Linked DNA regions of Homo sapiens: regions 1, 2, 3, 4, 5 and 6 are each linked to region 7. The links are contacts of gene promoters, found by promoter capture Hi-C in blood cells and fetal thymus (Javierre and others, 2016). All regions are on one chromosome and are shown on one strand. The core of a region is centred on a gene start or on the middle of the fragment in contact, and the rest is flanking DNA. Distances in the headings are between cores, read along the strand shown. Region 1 overlaps LARS1 (leucyl-tRNA synthetase 1). Region 2 has its middle 14 kb from the start of PPP2R2B-IT1. Region 3 has its middle 61 kb from the start of PPP2R2B-IT1. Region 4 has its middle 38 kb from the start of PPP2R2B-IT1. Region 5 overlaps LARS1 (leucyl-tRNA synthetase 1). Region 6 holds the start of RBM27 (RNA binding motif protein 27). Region 7 holds the start of GPR151 (G protein-coupled receptor 151).

Region 1 (2,761 bases), core at 211-2,710, 380 kb before region 7:
GTCTCTATTATTGTGCTTAGAAACTGGGTGTTTGTCTCTCTTGCTAGACAATAAGGATCAGGTCTCATTCATCTTTATAATACCAGTGCGTAGGATGACTCCAAAGATATTTATCCTTTTCTTTTAATCTACTTTTCCTTTAACCATTTTGCCCTACTCGAAAACAAGACAACATGGTAAAATGGTTATGAGAACAGACTTTCAAGACAGACAGAAGCAAGTTCATATCCCAAGTTTGCAACTACTAGCTTTAAGGCATTTAAGGAAATACTTAATTGTTCTAAGCTTCAGTTTCTTTATTTATAAAATAGAGCTAATAATATCTGTATTAAATAAGGTTGCTTTGAGGTTAAAGTCAGATAATGGACACAAAATACTTAGCATAGTACCCGGCACAAGTAAGCCTTCAATGAACACTAGCTATTATTATCATTAGTTTATTTTATTAAAAAAAAAAAAGAAAAGAAAAGAAAAAGAAAACAAAAATGCACCAGGACTAAGTAACTCTAAAACACAAAATGATTGGGATCTACAGATTACCTGGCAAAAACTCTATCATTGAAAGTGCTGGCAGGACCACTTCTTAGGCTGTCCCAGTTGGCAACCATTTCTTTCACCCACTCTACCCAGGTGTACAGACGGAGAATACCTGCATCTGCCATGGCTTCCACAAAGTTGGCATCTTCTACAGTGTCACCAGCATCAGCCAGAGCCAAACGCATTCCTGGAAGAAGAAAAAAAAATTCAATGCATTAAAAATATGGTTACTGAGTATCAACTGTGTCCTATGTGTCCAGTTGGATACCTTGCAAAGCCCATATATAAATTAACAAATGCTTTAAAGGACTGTCCTGGATCAACAACAAAAATTAAAATCACCAAAAAGTAGCATCCCTAACCGTGATGTTAAAATATTCGAACCATCCATATTGATTTGCATCCACTAAGCACCAATATGTGTTTCTTCTCAGGCATGTTGAGTTAATGAGATAAAGTGATCTTTAATGAGGCAGAGATAGAAAATGATAAAGTGGGGATAAAGACACACCTTTCATTGTGGTTTTCTTATCAACATTTCAGCCTCATTTAGAGGTAGCAAAATACATTTTAATACATGAGAATACACACTGGTGCCTTATGTGTACAAATGCATATGAATTTTTCTCAGTTTTGAAACTAGGTTCTTACAAGTTTATCACTAATAAAACTTTACTTTTTCAATTCTCATCTCTCAGTACTACCAAAATCTTCCATTCTAAAATATTGAAAAAAAGAACCTAAATGTCCATCAATTAAACTGTAGGATATCCCTACAATGGAACACTATAGGGTTGCAAAAAAAAAAAAAAAAAAAAGAGGGAACTCATTATGTAGTTATTTCCGTCTTTAGCTTTGGTGTCCAATCAAAGCATTCAGGTTCTGCACTTTGCCTTTTCCACTTAACAGTTCATATTTGTATACTAACCCATACATACACATATCTATGTTTTTTGTTTGTTTGTTTGAGATGGAGTTTCGCTCTTGTTGCCCAAGATAGAATGCAATGGCGCGATCTCGGCTCAGTGCAACCTCCGCCTCTTGGATTCAAGCAATTCTACTGCCTCAGCCTCCTGAGTAGCTGGGATTACAGGCATGCGCCACCACGCCCGGCTAATTTTGTACTTTTAATAGAGACAGGGTTTCTCCATGTTGGTCAGGCTGGTCTGAAACTCCCGATCTCAGGTAAACTGCCCACCTCAGCCTCCCAAAGTGCTGGGATTACAAGTGTGAGCCACCACACCCAGCTGTTTAGTTTTATATCTACATATCTATACACAAAATAAAAATCATGAGCTCATACTTTTATCACCAAATCCAATCTGACCCCATAGGGCTCATTCTAGCATTTTCTCTTTACTTATTTATAGCTTCTTTTTCTGATAGTGAGCTCTGTGAGGCAGAGGTTCTCATTATCTACCTGTTTACTTATTTATTCAATCCTAATATATACATAAAGTGGTTTCATAATTGCTTATATATCTTGTAAGAAACAGACTAACTATATTATTTGGATACAGTTCCGTCTTTGGCTTTGGTGTCCAGTCAAAATACTGAGAACACAAACTGAGTTAGCCATGACCAATAAAAAGAAGTACCATGATGACCAATGACTAATTATATAAGAAATGAATGGTTCTTTCAGGATAGTGCATTTCTTCTCTTGACACGATAATAATAAAATGTAATAGGACTGAGGCCAGACAAAAAAACAATTTTCTGAAAAAATCAATGTTCCCAGGTTCAAGACACATTTAGGAATACCAAATACAGGCCAGGCATGGTGGCTCATGCCTATAATCCCAGCACTTTGGAAGGCCAAGGAGGGTGGATCACTTGAGGCCAAGAGTTCAAGACCAGCCTGGCCAACAAGGCAAAACCCCGTCTCTACTAGAAATACAAAAATTAGCCAAGCGTGCAGGCACATGCCTGTAATCCCAGCTATTTGAGAGGCTGAGGCACAAGAATCGCTTGAACCCTGGAGATGGAGGTTGCAGTGAGCCAAGATCATGCCACTGTACTCCAGCCTGGGTGACAGAGCAAGACTCTGTCTCAGTTAATAAGAATGGAATACCAAATACAGAGGAAATATCTTGGAAAAGCTTCCTACATACTCAACATTTTTTTTTGAGACAGAGTTTCACTCTTGTTGCCTAAGCTGGAGTGCAATGCAATCTCAGCCCACTGCAACCTCCGCCTCCCGGGTTCAAGCGATTCTCCTGCC
Region 2 (2,730 bases), core at 209-2,708, 420 kb after region 7:
AACACTTCTTAATTCTCTTAACAATTAATAAAGAAGTTACTTTCCTATATAATGTAGAAGACTAATTTAAAAGAGAATTGTGTGTGAGTGCACGCATGGCATATGTGTGGATGCATGCACATGTGTGAGTGAATGGATTCCCCCAACCTCCAGCAGCATATCCATGTCTGGTCATCAGCAATAATCTGAAATATTTCCTGTTATTCTTCCTGAAACACCAGGAGAATTTCAAACTCTTTGAACCTTCCTTAGTATGTTTGAACTGAATCGTTTAGATTGGCCCACCCATTCATTCAGTAACTATTTACAAACATCACTCCCTTTTATTTGTTTGTTTTCCTTAAATTAGGTCAAAGTCATCTCCAGGGAACTGGGATTCTTGAATTCAAGGCCTATTGTATTTAAGGTTTATCAAGGTATCAGCCTGTCCCTCAGCTTTCTATCCTGGTTTGAAAGGATAATTTGAATTACCAAAGATATTAAATTGATATGGTTTGGCTGTGTCCCCACCCAAATCTCATCTTGAATGGTAGTTCCCATAATCCCCACATGTCGTGGGAGGGTCCCAGTGGGAGGTAATTAAATCATGGGTGTGGTTACCCCTATACTGCTGTTCTTGTGATAGTGAGTTCTCAGGAGGTCTCATGGTTTTAAAAGGAGCTTTTCCCCTTTTTGCTTGGCACTTTTTCTTGTCTGCTGCCACGTAAGACAGGCCTTTGCTTCTCCTTTGCCTTCTGCCATGACTGTGAGGCCTCCCCAGCCATGTGGAACTGTGAGTCCACTAAACTTCTTTCCTTTATAAATTATATTTCCTTTACAAAGTGTTGGGTATGTCTTTATTAGCAGCATGAGAACAGACTAACAAACAGATCTTTGGACAATAGATTCCATGAAGAGACTGAAGACTCTAGTGGCCCAGGTGGCTGAATCTTCTCCTAGCTTTCTTCTTCTTTATATACATCCCATTTGTGATCATGATAAACAAGGTCAAAGAGCAGTGAGAAAAGGAAAACTAACCACCTAGTATATGCAGAGAGATATCAAATGCTGAAGTAGATCAAGAAGACTTCCTTGAGCAAGGGGGCAGAGGAGAAAGCTATATCTAGCAGAGATATTACAGCTGTGGAGGTATCAAAGAAGCTTTGAGAATCTGGAAGGACAGCCCAGGAAACTGTTTCTTTACCTGTACCAGCACTAAGCATGCTAAAATATTCACGTGGGAATTATATCATATGCTGTTTTAATTAAAGCTGGTTGTATTCAACCTTGGAATTGTAACTAATTCTGTTTGCTCTTTGAGAAATTCTTATATATATTTTTAATATCCTTTGCTTCAGCAGCTGAGATTTCAAGTAACAGGGATTGGAAAATAATCCCATGTGTTTCCAACCAGATGAATTTTTTGGTTGTAAAGTTATTTCCTAAGATTTTTTTTCAATTAACATATTAGATCCTTGAGGAATATCCTGGATAAACGCCCAAGTTGCTCTTTGGTTAAGTAGAATAGCACAAAGTCTGTATCCAGGGAACCCAATCCTCTGATTACAGAGCAGGTCAAAGCTGCACCTTAATTATTTCTTTAAAAAATCAAAAGATTTTGAAAATGATTATTAGGGAGTTTTTATTCCCATTCTCTCTCAGATAAGTATTTTGTCTATGACACCTGATTCTTGAGAAAAAAACAAGAGAAAAAAATAAAACCTATTATCAACCACACTTGGGATACCATTAAGGGCCACCTCACTTTATTCTGAAATTTCTACTTCAGGGAGATTACCAAGCTTCCAGAGAGAAGCAAAATGAGACCCATTTAAGAACATGTGACCTATCGTGACAAACGGAAGTTCTTTTTTTTTTTTAAGTTTTTTTTTTCTTTTATTATTATACTTTAAGTTTTAGGGTACATGTGCACATTGTGCAGGTTCGTTACATATGTATACATGTGCCATGCTGGTGCACTGCACCCACTAACTTGTCATCTAGCATTAGGTGTATCTCCCAATGCTATCCCTCCCCCTCCCCCCACCCCACAACAGTCCCCAGAGTGTGATGTTCCCCTTCCTGTGTCCATGTGGTCTCATTGTTCAATTCCCACCTATGAGTGAGAACATGCGGTGTTTGGTTTTTTGTTCTTGTGATAGTTTACTGAGAATGATGATTTCCAATTTCATCCATGTCACTACAAAGGACATGAACTCATCGTTTTTTATGGCTGCATAGTATTCCATGGTGTATATGTGCCACATTTTCTTAATCAAGTCTATCATTCTTGGACATTTGGGTTGGTTCCAAGTCTTTGCTATTGTGAATAATGCTGCAATAAATATATGTGTGCATGTGTCTTTATAGCAGCATGATTTACAGTCATTTGGGTATATACCCAGTAATGGGATGGCTGGGTCAAATGGTATTTCTAGTTCTAGATCCCTGAGGAATCGCCACACTGACTTCCACAATGGTTGAACTAGTTTACAGTCCCACCAACAGTGTAAAAGTGTTCCTATTTCTCCACATCCTCTCCAGCACCTGTTGTTTCCTGACTTTTTAATGATTGCCATTCTAACTGGTGTGAGATGATATCTCATTGTGGTTTTGATTTGCATTTCTCTGATGGCCAGTGATGATAAGCATTTTTTCATGTGTTTTTTGGCTGCATAAATGTCTTCTTTTGAGAAGTGTCTGTTCATGTCCTTCGCCCACTTTTTGATGGGGTTGGACAAACGGAAGTTC
Region 3 (2,700 bases), core at 131-2,630, 460 kb after region 7:
TTCTACTCCAAACTTTCCAATAGTTCTCCATTTCACCTGGAGGAAAAGCTGATGTATTTAAGAATGGCTTCGTTTCTCTCTTTTCCCATTTCTACTTACTCTACTTCAGTAACATTGGTCTCCTTGCTATTTCTCTAATAGGACATATACGCTTCTACCTGAGTGCCTTTATACTTGCTGTTTCCTTGGCCTGAAACACATTTCTCTCAGTTAACTGCATGGCTTGCTTTTTTACCTTCTTAATGTTTTTGTTCATTTACATTTCTGAGAACATCTCTGGCCCTTCTATCTAATATTGCTTCTCTGTCTCAATACTTCCTTATTCATCATTTTCTGTTTTCTTTTTCTCCATAGAATTCATCATTTTATAAAATTTCACACAATTTTCTTGTTTACTTTCTGTTTCCTTCCACTAGAATATAAACTCTGTAATAGCAAAGAAATTTACTTATTTTGCTCACTGCTGTATCCTCAGTGCCTACAGTAGTACCTGCCACATAGTAGATGCTCAATAGATGCTCAATAAATAAAACTTAAATGAACCAATGAACCAATATTGAATCTTCCCACCTTGAAACACACACACACACACACACACACACACACACACACACACGCTAGTCCCTCTTTATCCACAGGGGATACGTTCCAAGACCCCCAGTAAATGCCTGAAACCACAGATAGTACTGAACCATATGTACAAATAACAAATGTAATGTTTTACCTCATACATACATACCAATGATAAAGTTTAATTTACAAATAAGGCATAGTCAGAGATTAACAACAATAACTCATAAAATAGAACAATTATAACAATATACTGTAATAAAAGTTATGTGAATGTGATCTCTGTCTCTCAAAATATCTTATTGTACCCTACTCACCTATTTCTCATTGCAATTGACCACAGATAACTGAAACTCCAGAGAGCAAAACCATGGCAGATAAAAGGAGAAAATGGTACGTGTGTGTATATATACAAACACATATGCAAACTTGTTTTATTTTTTAATATGGCTTGGTGGTTTTCATCTTCGAGATATCCACAAAATTGAATTTAATTTTTAAATTTAATTCCATAATTTATAGGTGAGATAGATTTATATTTATTGTTATGGAGAGATGCCAATGATATATTTTTATGAAAAAAAGAAATTCAGAACAGTATGTAGAACATGACTTCATTGTGATAAAAATAAAAATGTGTGCATGTATCTATGTTTCAGAGTAGACTTTCCACATCTCCCAACTAGATGTTGGGCATATACTGAAGATAAGGTAACAGAAGGAAATCTTGTAATTCAGGGAAGCAGCCAGAAGTTTTCTGAGCACAATGAAGCAGAGATGGTATTCAAAGAGAAAACCAATTAGCAGGATAAATGCTTCAGATTCTTTTTAATACTTGAACCTCTGTCTCCTTTACACCATCCCTCCCCTCCCTGCTAGTCTCATCCAGAAGGGAAATCTGATCACTGACAACCCACCCCAGAGATTAAGATTAGGAACAGAGCTGGAAGAAACAGCAACAAGGAAAAGGAAGGAGAGGAAGGAAGGCTCAAGGGAGAGAATGGAGGCTCCCATGCCTGAACTAAATGTGAGTTGAATCCCTGTTCCCTGTGGAACTAGATGGGCTGGGAAAGACTTGAACATTAAATAGATTAATCTCTCTTGTTTTTTTATGTATTCTAATTTTATGGTAATGTGGTCTCTGTTATATTGATTTACAGTATCTTTTGCATGTAATTTGAGGCTATATGTTGTCAATTTTTGGAATGTTTTATACATGCATAGGAGAATTGCTTTCTCTAATGTGTAGATACAAGATTTCATATACATACATGTTTGTTACATGACACTAGTTAATTGCATTATTTAAAAACTCTATATCCTTACTAGTTTTCTGTGTTGTAACCTATCAGTTTCTGAAAATGGAGGAGGACCTTTAAACATTTTTTTTAACCTAGATACTCAAATTCAAGAAACAATGAATCCTAAAAAGACTAAATAAAAAGATATCTACATCTAGAAAGGACTCAGTGAAACTTCAGAACATTTAAAATACTGTATTTCTTACTCATTTTTTTTTGTTTGTTTATTGTATGTCTCCCACTAGAATTTTAAGTCCCATAAGAGCAGGCAGGAAATTCTGCCTATTTTGTTCATAGTACCTGGCACATAGCAGGCACTCTACAAATATTTGCTGAAGTAATGGATTCAGTTCTTCCCCTGCTTCATTCAGGGTTCAGTTTTCTTCTTACTGAAGTTCATACTTCAATCCCTCTTTTAGGGAGAGTCTTGGGTGGTAAATTTTCTTAGTCCTCACAACTAGAAGTTTCTATTTTGTTTTTACTCTTCAATGAGAGTTTAGCTGGGTCAAGTCCTATATAATGAGTTATTTTTTTTTCTTCAGCAGTTTGAATCTATTACTTAAAGAATTTTTTTCTGGCTTTTATTGTTTTCGAGAATTCGGTTGTGAGTCTGATATTCTTTGGAAGATAACCAGTCTCCTATCTCTTGGAATTTTTTTGTTTAATTAAATATTTTTTCCTTTGAGATAATTGTGGGTTCATAAGCACTTGAAAGAAATAATACACAGAGAACACTTGTATCCTTTTCCCAACTTATCTCAATAGTAACTTCTTGCAAAACTATAATATACTATCACAACCAAATATTGACATTGATACAATAAAGACA
Region 4 (2,833 bases), core at 314-2,813, 440 kb after region 7:
ATGAATGGAAAAAACTTTGCCTGAATTCTTGACTCCCATGCTCTTTGTTCTCCTATCTGATCCCCAACTATGTGGAACTGTCATCACAGAAAAATAATTGCCCTGGTCACTCCCCAGAAAGCTTGCTCAAGATTTTATCCACTTTTGTTTCACCAAAGATTTGATCTTGGGGAAAAATATATCCAACTCAGCCAGCTTTTGAAATAACCCAGGATATTGTCATCATGCATATTTTAGAAACACTTCAAACTTAAGAGTACGCTCCATCTCTTTCCATAAGTCTCCCCATGCCAAACACACAGACCAGTCCATAGACTTGAGATTATAGCTCTTTCCAGAAGACAATATGCATATGTATGTATATATCTGTCTTAGCCCATCTGGTCTACTATAACAAAGTACCATAGACTGAGTGCCTTAAACAACAAACATTTACTTCTCACAGTTCTGGAGGCTGGAAGTCCAAGATCAAGGGGCCAGCAGATTTGGTGTCTGATGAGGACTCTCTTCCTGGTTTGCAGATGGCCATCTTTCACGTGTCCTTACATCTTTACATGGTGGAAAGAGCAAGGGAACTCTCTGGAGTCTCTCTTTTGAGGGCATTAATCCCATTTATTAGGATTCTATCTTCATGGCCTCATCACCTCCCAAAGGTCCATCTCTTAATACCATCGCTTGGGGGTTAAGATTTCAGCATATGAATTTTGGAATACATAAACATTCAGTCTATAGCCATATCCTAGAGTTTCTAATACATTTTGGAACTCAAATATTTCATTATTGGGAAGACATGAATCACCAAGTCTTTCTCCAAGTAAAACATATTGTCCAATATTTTACCACTTGCAGTAAATATGTGTGTTGCCATCTGGAGCTGTGAGCTTCAAAATGGAGGGGACATACACTACCCAGGTGAGTCTTATTTAAAAATGCAGATTTCTAGATTCTATGCCCAGCAATTCTGATTTAGATCAACAGTCAGACTTAGAAATCTACATTTGCATAAGCATCCCATGTAGTCTTGCTTCAGAAGCTCATAGTTCAGAATGAGGGACAGCCATGTAAACAAATGACTGCCATCCGATATGATAAATTGAATGACAGAAGTGTGTACCATGCATAGTGCTAGCTGCAAGAGGTGGGGGCACAGTAGGAATTTTACTTAGTCTAGAGAAGGATGTTAGAGGCTTCTTCAAATAGTGTATTTAAGTTGAGCCTTGAGAGAGAAGAGAAAATTCAGTAGGCACCAGTTGATGGGATATAAACAAATAAATACATCTTTATTTGCATGATTGTTGGAGATAAAGTTAGAGGGCAGTGGGAGCAGGTAGAGGCACCTGACACAAATAGTTATGTAGGTTGTACTCTACCCAGCTTTAGGGCACCAATCTCACCATAGTCATCATAGTTTTGTACATTTGTTGCAATAACGTTCTGACCTATGGTAACACTATATCTTGAATAAATGGTCTCAGTTTCTAAGTTGTGCAAAGACCAGTGGGCCAGTGCTAGGTCTAGAGGAGAGGAAGTGGGAAGACTATATCCCTTTTTCACAGTTTTCAGTCTCACGTATATCACTTCACAAGGAACACAGGGAATCCTGGAGGAAGAAAATACTATAATTACAGCCTATGGTGTTGGCTGCATGTCAAAAAGATGTACCTGCTCAAAATATAAAGTGAACCTAGGACTGACAGAAAAGGGTCGAATAATGAGGGAAGTAGGAAAATCTGAGTTGGAGGAGGATCATCAAACATCTATTTTTTTTTTTCTCCAAATGTTGCTGCCAAGACATTAATCAAACAACCCATATCCAGTGTTCCTCAGATACAGCAACGAGCAGACATTAATCGCAGATCTCCCGAAGGCCCCACCCTTTCAGATTCCAGGCACCATCTATGAAGAGAAGTACCTTTTATTTTCCCTTGAGGATGCTCAGCTGCCACTGTCTCTAGCCCTTATCTGGGTCCTTGGAGCCCTTTACTCTATTGAATTGTCTTGATTTTCACACCAAAGCCTTCAATCCCAGAGAGATCTTTCCATTCCATTTTTGAAGGAAATATCACTAGTAGATCTGCCTCCATGAGCACTTTCTGGGTATGGCATATTTACCTTCTAAGGAAAGATGAGGAATCCATAAAATTAGTGTTAGTCATCTTACCTCTGTAACCTCTTATTACTTTATTACCGTCACTACCAAAAATAATATTTATTCATCACTCTTCATGTGCTAATGAATTTTACTAACTCTGTATTGTCACGATTTTCATTTCATCCTCACAAAATTTCCATAATGTAGCCATTATTAAACCTCATTTAGAGAGAACATCAAGATTCAGAGAGGTTATGTAACTTATCCTGAATTACGTAGTTAATAAATACTAGAGCCAGGATATAAACTCAAGATTGTCCAACTTGAAAGGCCATAGTATAAATCAGTATATGATACTGCCTCTGCCCTCTTTCCTTCAGATCATGAGCTATATCATTACTATCTTCCGAGTGCCTTTGTGTGAACTTAGCTCTTTGTATGTATTAACCAATTTAAACCTCACAACAAACTTATGCAATAGGTTCTATTATTTCCATTTCAGAGATGAGAAAACTATGGCACAGAGAAATTAAATTACATGCCCAAGATCATCCATTTAGTAAGTAGTTGGAGGTGGGATTCAAACAATTCAAAAAAGCTGTTGAGATCTTGTTTATTTCACATTTGGTTCTTACATAGTAGCCTTAATCTAACCAAAGCCAATATTTTTAAGGTGTTTTAATAAATATCTAGGAAAATATACTGACATCCAGATTTACAATTTAGTTCAGAGGGAGAGTA
Region 5 (2,700 bases), core at 5-2,504, 360 kb before region 7:
TCCATATTTTGCTCGTAAGGCCTACAGAAAAATTTGCAAGTTAACACTAATGATCAACACTTTACTGGGAGAATCATTGAGAGAAGCAATCTCCAAAGTTTCTTAAAAGTTTCTTTAAAGTTTCTATTTGTTCTCCTCTCCATAGAGAGCAATTTTCTAACTTTGCCAAATATCTCAAAAGGGATCTGTAACCTTCAAAAATTTAATAGCTAAAGTTATAGTGAATAGCCTAAATGAAACCACACAACCAAAAGCAAAAATGTACATAGACATACACATATCACTTAAATTGAGGTTCATATGCCAGATTTCAATGAAAATGTGAATATCAGAAAGCTTTTTCAAAATTCTGTGAACATATTTAAAATTCAAACCACAGAAAATATATTAACATCAAGAAACAAGTTAGAGATAGCAGTTTAAAGATAAATGCATAGCTTTTTAGCCTAGTCCCACAGCGTAGTTCAGCAGCACCTAAGCAATGAGATGGTGAGGACGAAATACAAACATGAAACTCAGATACTTACTTGCTTTTTCTTCAAGTCTCTGAGGGCAGCAATATCATCAGGGGAGTCGGAAGGAACACTTGTAACCACACCAGTGCCTTAGAAAACAAAGTGTGGAATTAATAACTAGAACCAAAATGTGTTTATCAAAATATTTCTAGAAATAAATAAACTCTTTACCTTTATCCTCCTTAATAGTTAGCATTGGGAGAACATAGATCACCTTGTATGATGTTAAAGGTGCAGAAAGTGATGCACCAAGAATTTCCTGCATAAGAAAAAAATCAATATAAAAGGTGAAGTAATTCATTGTGACCATTAGAATTAAAACTATGTTAATATTTTAAGCCCTGAGAAGCTAGTAATCAAAAATATATGGAAATAAATTCAAGAGCTATATTGTACAATATGGTGACTATAGGAAATAACAATGTATTTTATACTTGAAAATTGCTGTGTAGATTTTTTTAAGAGACAGAGCCTTGCTATGTTGCCAAGGCTAGAGTGTAGAGGCTATTCACAGGTGCTATCATAGCATTCTACAGGCTCAAGCTCCTGGGCTCAGGCAAGCCTCCTGAGGTCCCAGCCTCCCAAGTAGCTGGCTCTACAGGTGCATACCACTGCACCTGATTTAAATTTTAACTCTTCTCACCACAGAAAATGGTAAGTACGTAAGGTATAAATTTGTTAATTACCTCAATTTAGCCATTTCACAATGTATATATATTTCAAAACATATTGCGTACCATAAATACAATTTCTGTCAATTAAAAAATGAATACAGGCTGAGCGCGGTGGCTAACGCCTGTAAACCCAGCACTTTGGGATGCTGAGGCAGGCAGATTGCCTGAGCTTAGGAGTTCGCGACCAGCCTGGGCAACATGGTGAAACCCCGTCTCTACTAAAATACAAAAAATTAGCCAGGCGTGGTGGCATGCGCCTGTAGTCCCAGCTATTTGGAAGGCTGAGGCGGGAGAATTGCTTGAACCCGAGAGGTGGAGGTTGTAGTGAGCCAAGATCGTGCCACTGCACTCCAGCCTGGGTGACAGAGGGAGACCCCGTCTCAAAAAATAAAGAAAAGAATATAAATAAAATACATATGAAGTAAAACAAAACACATTATTTTATACCTACTAGAGGAAAAATAATTTTTTTTTTGAGATGGAGTTCTGCTCTTGTTACTCAAGCTGGAGTGCAATGGCATGATCTCGGCTCACTGCAACCTCCGCCTCCCAGGTTCCAGCGATTCCTGCCTCAGCCTCCCATGTAGCTGGGATTACAGGCATGCACCACCACGCCTGGCTAATTTCTGTATTTTTAGTAGAGACAGGGTTTCACCATGTTGGCCAGGCTGGTCTTGAACTCCTGACCCCAGGTGATCCACGCACCTCTGCCTCCCAAAGTGCTGGCATTACAGGCATGAGCCACCGTGCCCGTCCCGGAAAAATAATTTTTAATAATTATAATAACTAAATCTGTCAATATTATGACATGAGTACACTAATACATTGTTTGTGACATTGTACTCCTTGAAGAAAATATAGGAATCCACAGCAAAAGCCACAAAATGTTCATGTAACTCAGACTCAACAACAACTAATTATTTTTTCTTAAACAAGTCTACCCAATGCTGAGTTAATTATACTAGGAAAGCCTGGAAACAACTAAAGCTTTCAATGATAGAAAAAATGATTTAACAAAATATGTTACAAGAACAAGAATGGGTACTATACATCTATTTAAAATAGTAGTTATGAAGACAAAGTAAAAGGATAGTTCTAATTTCACTTGAAAAAATCCAAAAGATTAAGCAATTTTAGACCCAAATTCTCAGATGGCAACAAAGAATTTGCAGCTTCTTGCTCTAGCTAAGGAACACACTTTTCCTTTCCACATAATTCCCACCCACCCCTCTTTATTCATATATGTACTTATAACCTGCCTTTATAGAATTTGCAGTCATATGGATGACAGCTAAATATTATAACCATTTTAAATGTTGAAACTATTTTGCAATTTATAACATCCATGTCCCTCACGCCAGAATTTGCTCAAATTAACAGGGAGAAAAGTTGCATTAAGAATAGGAAAACATGTATGTCCCTAATACTGTTCCCAAGAACTTCTCAGACAAAATTCCAACATTAGGAACTAAAGAGATGTGGCAGTGCTGCTTTTAAAAGAAAAAGGCAGG
Region 6 (2,700 bases), core at 151-2,650, 310 kb before region 7:
ATGCTGGGATTACAGGTGTGAGGCACCGCGCCCAGCCTGGCCTACATTTTTAAATGGAGAAAAAAATGAAAAGATAATATTTCATGGTATGTGAAAATTATATAAATTTAAAATTTTATATAATTTTAATAAATGTTTGTAATACAGCCACAATCATTCCATTTACATATTGTCCCTGGTTAATTTTAAGCCAAGACATTGTATGACGAGTAGTTGCCATAGATACCTCAAGGCTCACAAAACCAAAATATTTAGTATCTGATCCTTTGCAGAAGTTTGCCTATACCTGTTCTATGTATATATAGGATGTCTGTTTATTTGAGGTTGATCCATTTCTTTTATATGAGGTGCGTGCTCATTAGGTATTTTTCAAAATGTTATTACAATGCATAACCCCATAAACTGTTCATCATCTTAAGAGGAGAAGCTCTGTTTTGCTCAGCATTGGACTCCTAGTGCCTTACTCAGTGCTGGCAATTGCAGGGACTCAGTATATGTTATTGGGTAAACATTTTAACATCAGTGCTAAATCAGTGATTTCAAAACTCCAGAAAGAATTTCTCACCTACTAGAAAGTAAGTTGACTATTTCAGTAGTTTCTAATTTGTCTTAAAAATTTTTTTGTAATCCTTCTTTGCTGATTAAAATTCTCCCTTCCCGTCCCCCAACCACTGAATTTTAGATATACAATGAAAAGATAATTAAAAACAAACTATTGGAGTCATTTTTCTTCCTAAATAAAGCAACATTTATTAATAGTACTAGCAAAATTGAAATGGCCTCAGCCTTTTACATCCGTGCGCCACGTTTTAAAAATGACGATTACTGGATTCCAAGGCATGGTTGTCAGAAACATTCTGCGTAATTAAAGCAGAGCAGCAGAAAATACAAACGTGAGTGCCAATCAACATGAGTGTGTAAAGAAAAAAAGTAAAATTTTGCATTCTGTGCAATGTGTCGAACGTGAACGTATTGCACGTTGTGTTGCAGATTTACTACAGCTGAGTCATTTCGGGACACGAGTGTGTGTTTCCAAGAAAAACGAGAGGAAGGAACCAGGCTGAGGGGCTCGCCGGGTTCCCCCAGGCACTCCCAGCAGCAGACACCGGTATTCCGCGGCGGGCGGCGGCGTGGTCAAAAAAAGGCGCCGCTGCCCCTTTAAGAGGCAAAGCACCTTTTCCAAGATACCATCTTGCACCAGGAGTTCACTTAAGCTCTCCACCTACCTTGCTATATCTCTCCTCCCTGACTGGGTACCGCCTGCCGGCGGGGCGAGCGAGCCTTTTCATTGGTCTTGCCCTCAGGGCCCCCTCTCTCTTACTGGTTCTCAGGCCTGCCACTCGGCACTGTCTCCCGCCCACCTCAGCCTTCGGGCTAGGTTGAGTGAGGGCTCTTGGGTTAGTTCCTGTTAGGCCCCGGCCGGGGGAGTAGGTTGAAGTCTCCTAAGATGCCCGGTGGGCTGGGGCACCGGGAGCTGTGAAGGGAACGTGAGGGGGCGGCGTAGTGGAGACCCACGGCAGGCCTGAAGAAGAGCGGCGGCCGAGCCCGCCTTCCCTGCACCATGCTCATAGAGGATGTGGATGCCCTCAAGTCCTGGCTGGCCAAGTTACTGGAGCCGATGTGAGTGAGCCGGGCTGGGCCGGGGCCGGCGAACGTGGGCGTTGGGGGCTCGCGGGGGCGTGGGGGAGGGGAGGTGGCGTGGGGGGCGGCGCTGAGGGGCCGCGGCCGGGAGGTCCCGGCGACGCCTTCCCTGTAGTACTATCACCATTGTGGTGGGGGTGAGGGTGGGAGAGGAGCGCTGGGGACGGAGAGGCGCCGTGAATATGGGGACTGGGGGGGCAGGCAAGGACAGCGAAGGCTTTTCAAACGCAAATATCGGGGTGCTGGAAGGGGTAGCAGGGGCCGTGAGGGAATTTAAAACATTGCTGTTTGAGAACTGAGAGAGAGGTAACGGGGCTCTTGAGGGATTTTTAAAATGTGAATATTGAGATGTCGAAGGGAATAGCAGAATATCAAGGGTTTGATAAACATTATTATTCCGGGACTGAAAGGTCTAGAAGCAAAATATCGAGGGCATTTTCGAAATATGAGGGCAGAAGCGGATAGCAGGGACATTGAAACTGTATAGCGATTATTGGTAAGTTCTGAGGGATCAAGAATATTGAAGGATTTGAAAAATACTATGGAGTAGATGAAAAGGATGTGTGGGCATTGAAGGGTTTTAGAAATTATTGGGGAGGTGATAAGTGTGATAGCAAGGATATTAAGGGATTTTAAAGTATTATTGAGGGCTTGATAGTGCTAGGGGAACTGATGACTTTTAGATACATAGAGGTTGGAAAAAAGAGGTTTCTGTAAGTTTAGTTGAAGGTTGAAAGGGCTACACTGGTATGCAGCATTAATTGGTGGAGGAGTATACCTAACAGTATGTAGGGATTTTTAGATACAGGTGGTGTTGGAGGAATAAAAGGAGCGGTAGAAAGAATAAGAGATTTGTAAGTATTCTTGTGCCATTGAGAGGACAGTTTTGTAAATGTTTTTGTAAGATTGAGAGGACACCTGAAGATAATTGGGGTGTAGTATGAGGGACCGAAAAGAATGAGAGACCTGTCTTTTAAAAATATTTTGGGTGGTGTTAGTAGAAATGTTATTGGGAGGCTTGAAAGAGGTAACAGATGTATCAACATTTTGTTTTATAAC
Region 7 (2,700 bases), core at 152-2,651:
ATATTGATAAGCAGCAGTACAAGTAAATACAATAATCACAGTTTGTTTTGCTTTGAAACTTAAATCTATTTAACACCTTCCCCTGTCTCTTGATCTTCATGTTCCCAGGGGATAGGGTCATTGTCCTGTACAGAAGGGACTGTGTCCCTCTCATGCCAAAACTGCTCTACGTCAGGAAGGATGGGAATCTCTGCCTTCTCAGTTTTCCCTTTGCCAGAGGAGGGAGAGCTGGGTTTCTCTTTTTCTGGTATGGATGCTGGGGATTCTGGAGATGGAACCTTGTCAGGAAGACCCTCTGAGTTGCCAGCTGGTGTTTCCTGAGACTCTGAGACAGTTGGAGGTTTTTTGGTTATCATCCATTTCCATACACCTTTCAAGCCTTCCCTGAACTCTTCCGACATCACAAGAAAAATGAGAGGATTTGCTGAAGAGATGGAAAACATCAAGACTTGAGACAGGGCTATGAAACCTTGTGGTGGGGCCGGGCCTGCAGCCTTCAGATGCCATACCCACAGCCAAGCTACCCATTCGGGGAGCCACAAGAGAGCAGAGATGATGGCAATGCTCAGCAGCATCACTGTGACTTGCTTTGAGCGTATCTGGTTTCTAAGATTTTGAGTCTTAGTTCCTCGTTTTTTACATTGGTCATAAGCTCTCCAGAAATAAAAGCTGGCAAAAAATAATGGAAGGCCAAATGCCAGGAGTGGGTAGAGCTTACCAAACATCGACATAAACTCTTCAGCCACAGCTGGTACATCCACGAGGCACATTTCCACACCTTCATGATGCCTGATGGTGCTAAAGAACCATTCCGGCAGGGGTAACAGGCTAGCCACAGTCCAGATGGCCACCAGCACTGACCAGATGGTGTAGTTGTGGATACTCACTTGCTTGGCTGGGTCACTTGCATACATGAAGCATACTTTGGCCACCACAACGATTGTCAGGCTCTTGGCTGCCATGCATGTGTGGATAAACCAGTCAGAGGACTTGCAGACAAACCAGCCTAGATCCCAAACACTTTTGGAGTACGCCGTAGCTCGGATAGGTGCAGAAAACAGCAGGAGGGAGAGATCAGCCAGGCTGAGATTCAGAATCAGGGAGTGGATCATGGATGGCTTTCCTTTCCAAGCATTGTGAAGGAGGATGCCAATCACACACAGGTTTCCCACGAAGCCCACCAGGCAGACAGCCACCAAGAGAGCCGGGATGATGGTTCTCCAGTCCTGGGAATCAGAGGGCAGGTACCCTCCGGCAAAGTGGAGGTGAGCAAAGGACACATTCATGCTGCTGGAGTTAGAGTCTGCAAAGGCAGCTGCCAGCATCACTCTTCACAGCTTCTTACAGAAGTTAGATTCTTATTTAGGTTTGTCTTTCTGCCTGGGCTCTTTTGCATAGGAAATAAGTACTCTGTCGTCAGTGTCAAATGACACTTCTGGATCCTCCCCTTGCTTATTTCCTGAGAGCAGAATGTGGAAGGAGGCTGGCTGTTAAGCTCTTCTCTGCTGCATACAATATACTTGTGACTGTACCGACTGTCAGATAGCAGGAGCACATGGCTGCTGCTCATTAGCAAGTCTAATACCAAATCGTCAGCCCTGTGGAGTAATACAAATATACCCATAAATGATGAATGAAGAGAACATACATGTAAGTGGCATGTGTTCCTTGGGGGGTCACTAGAGCCAGTCAAGGCAATTATTTTCAACCAGCTCTTCCTAAAATCTTGACTGCTGTCTGTAATTTAGTGAACACTACATCTGAACCAAGTTCTTTGAACTTCACCTGATGGCCGGATCCAGTGGGTCTGGAGTAGGGCCCAAGAAATCATTTCTAACAAGTTCCCATGAGACTCTGATGCTGCAGGTTGGGAGACCACACTTTGAGAACCACTGTTTTAAACTGAGAACTAAAGCTTCCCCTACCCACTCTGCAGAGATGAGCTTCCTCTTCTTTTCCCCAACCCTTACAACCACCTCAGTTCCATCAACAGCTGGCTGAGTTCAAACACAGCTGGATAATGAAAACAAGTTAGAAGTCCTATTAAAAAAATCTAATTATGGATGACTCTCAGTTTATTCTATTACGAGTTTTTAGAAGCAATTTTACAGCTCCAAATTAGAACTGCTTTACATACTAATAAGACTTTTCAACAAGTGATGGTGATGAAGGCAACTGCATGATGAATTAAGCTGCTTTTCAGAGAGCATTCCTAGAGGATTTACCAAGACAAGAGAAATGAAAGAAAAATCAATATCTATGTGGAAGGCATTTAAGAGATTTTTTTAAATTATATTTTAAAGTTGGTAAAGATTTTGTGCTGGGCACACTGGCTCATGCCTGTAATCCCAGAATTTGGGGAGGTGGAGGCGGGAGGATTGCTTAAGGCCAGAAGTTCGAGACCAGCCTGGGCAACAAAGTGAGACCCCTGCCCCCACCTCTACCAAACAAACAAGAAAAAAAAAAAAAAGAAAAAAAAAAAAGTCAGCCATGATGGTGTACACCTGTAGTCCTAGCTACTTAAGAGACTGAGGTGAGAGGGTTGCTTAAGCCCAGGAGTTCGAGGTTGCAGTGAGCTATGACTGTGCTGCTGCACTCCAACCTGAGTGACAGAGTGATCCTCTGTCTCTAGAAATAAAAAAATTCTCAGATAAGATGATTTGGTAGAACTAGCCCTGAAATTTTAAAATAAGCAATGGA

What was found. The method cuts DNA at HindIII sites, captures the fragments that hold promoters and counts their contacts. A CHiCAGO score of 5 or more calls a contact.
Region 1: a fragment that was not itself captured here is called in contact with the fragment with the promoter of GPR151 in region 7 in 1 of 17 cell types (activated CD4 T cells); the score reaches 6.3 in activated CD4 T cells.
Region 2: a contact is called between a fragment that was not itself captured here and the fragment with the promoter of GPR151 in region 7, in 1 of 17 cell types (naive CD8 T cells). The highest score is 5.1, in naive CD8 T cells.
Region 3: a contact is called between a fragment that was not itself captured here and the fragment with the promoter of GPR151 in region 7, in 3 of 17 cell types (naive CD4 T cells, total CD4 T cells and naive CD8 T cells). The highest score is 6.7, in naive CD4 T cells.
Region 4: a contact is called between a fragment that was not itself captured here and the fragment with the promoter of GPR151 in region 7, in 5 of 17 cell types (total CD8 T cells, total CD4 T cells, naive CD4 T cells and 2 more). The highest score is 10.2, in total CD8 T cells.
Region 5: a fragment that was not itself captured here is called in contact with the fragment with the promoter of GPR151 in region 7 in 1 of 17 cell types (total B cells); the score reaches 5.2 in total B cells.
Region 6: the fragment with the promoter of RBM27 here is called in contact with the fragment with the promoter of GPR151 in region 7 in 9 of 17 cell types (activated CD4 T cells, monocytes, total CD8 T cells and 6 more); the score reaches 11.6 in activated CD4 T cells.

What each region holds. Positions count from the first base shown.
Region 1 is chr5:146,132,358-146,135,118 of GRCh38, forward strand. LARS1 (leucyl-tRNA synthetase 1) reads right to left here. Exons shown (of 32, transcript NM_020117.11): 23 at 541-724. Among named protein-coding and RNA genes, the nearest start is that of PLAC8L1, 28 kb to the left of the region's middle. RefSeq lists an enhancer at 802-971. The HindIII fragment of the contact is 2,354 bases long and covers 284-2,637 here.
Region 2 is chr5:146,931,815-146,934,544 of GRCh38, forward strand. It overlaps a transcript of PPP2R2B not described here. Among named protein-coding and RNA genes, the nearest start is that of PPP2R2B-IT1, 14 kb to the left of the region's middle. The HindIII fragment of the contact is 641 bases long and covers 1,139-1,779 here.
Region 3 is chr5:146,978,983-146,981,682 of GRCh38, forward strand. It overlaps a transcript of PPP2R2B not described here. Among named protein-coding and RNA genes, the nearest start is that of PPP2R2B-IT1, 61 kb to the left of the region's middle. The HindIII fragment of the contact is 8,576 bases long and covers 1-2,700 here.
Region 4 is chr5:146,956,299-146,959,131 of GRCh38, forward strand. It overlaps a transcript of PPP2R2B not described here. Among named protein-coding and RNA genes, the nearest start is that of PPP2R2B-IT1, 38 kb to the left of the region's middle. The HindIII fragment of the contact is 2,889 bases long and covers 120-2,833 here.
Region 5 is chr5:146,153,207-146,155,906 of GRCh38, forward strand. It overlaps LARS1 (leucyl-tRNA synthetase 1), which reads right to left. Exons shown (of 32, transcript NM_020117.11): 11 at 687-774; 12 at 528-604; 13 at 1-21. Among named protein-coding and RNA genes, the nearest start is that of LARS1, 28 kb to the right of the region's middle. The HindIII fragment of the contact is 1,840 bases long and covers 335-2,174 here.
Region 6 is chr5:146,202,205-146,204,904 of GRCh38, forward strand. RBM27 (RNA binding motif protein 27) reads left to right here and starts at 1,401. Exons shown (of 21, transcript NM_018989.2): 1 at 1,401-1,620. The coding sequence starts at 1,562. It overlaps RBM27-POU4F3 (RBM27-POU4F3 readthrough), which reads left to right and starts at 1,401. Exons shown (of 20, transcript NM_001414499.1): 1 at 1,401-1,620. The coding sequence starts at 1,562. RefSeq lists enhancers at 837-986, 1,457-1,616. The HindIII fragment of the contact is 5,706 bases long and covers 1-2,700 here.
Region 7 is chr5:146,514,789-146,517,488 of GRCh38, forward strand. GPR151 (G protein-coupled receptor 151) reads right to left here and starts at 1,402. Exons shown (of 1, transcript NM_194251.3): 1 at 1-1,402. The coding sequence starts at 1,325. The coding sequence ends at 66. The HindIII fragment of the contact is 3,538 bases long and covers 1-1,913 here.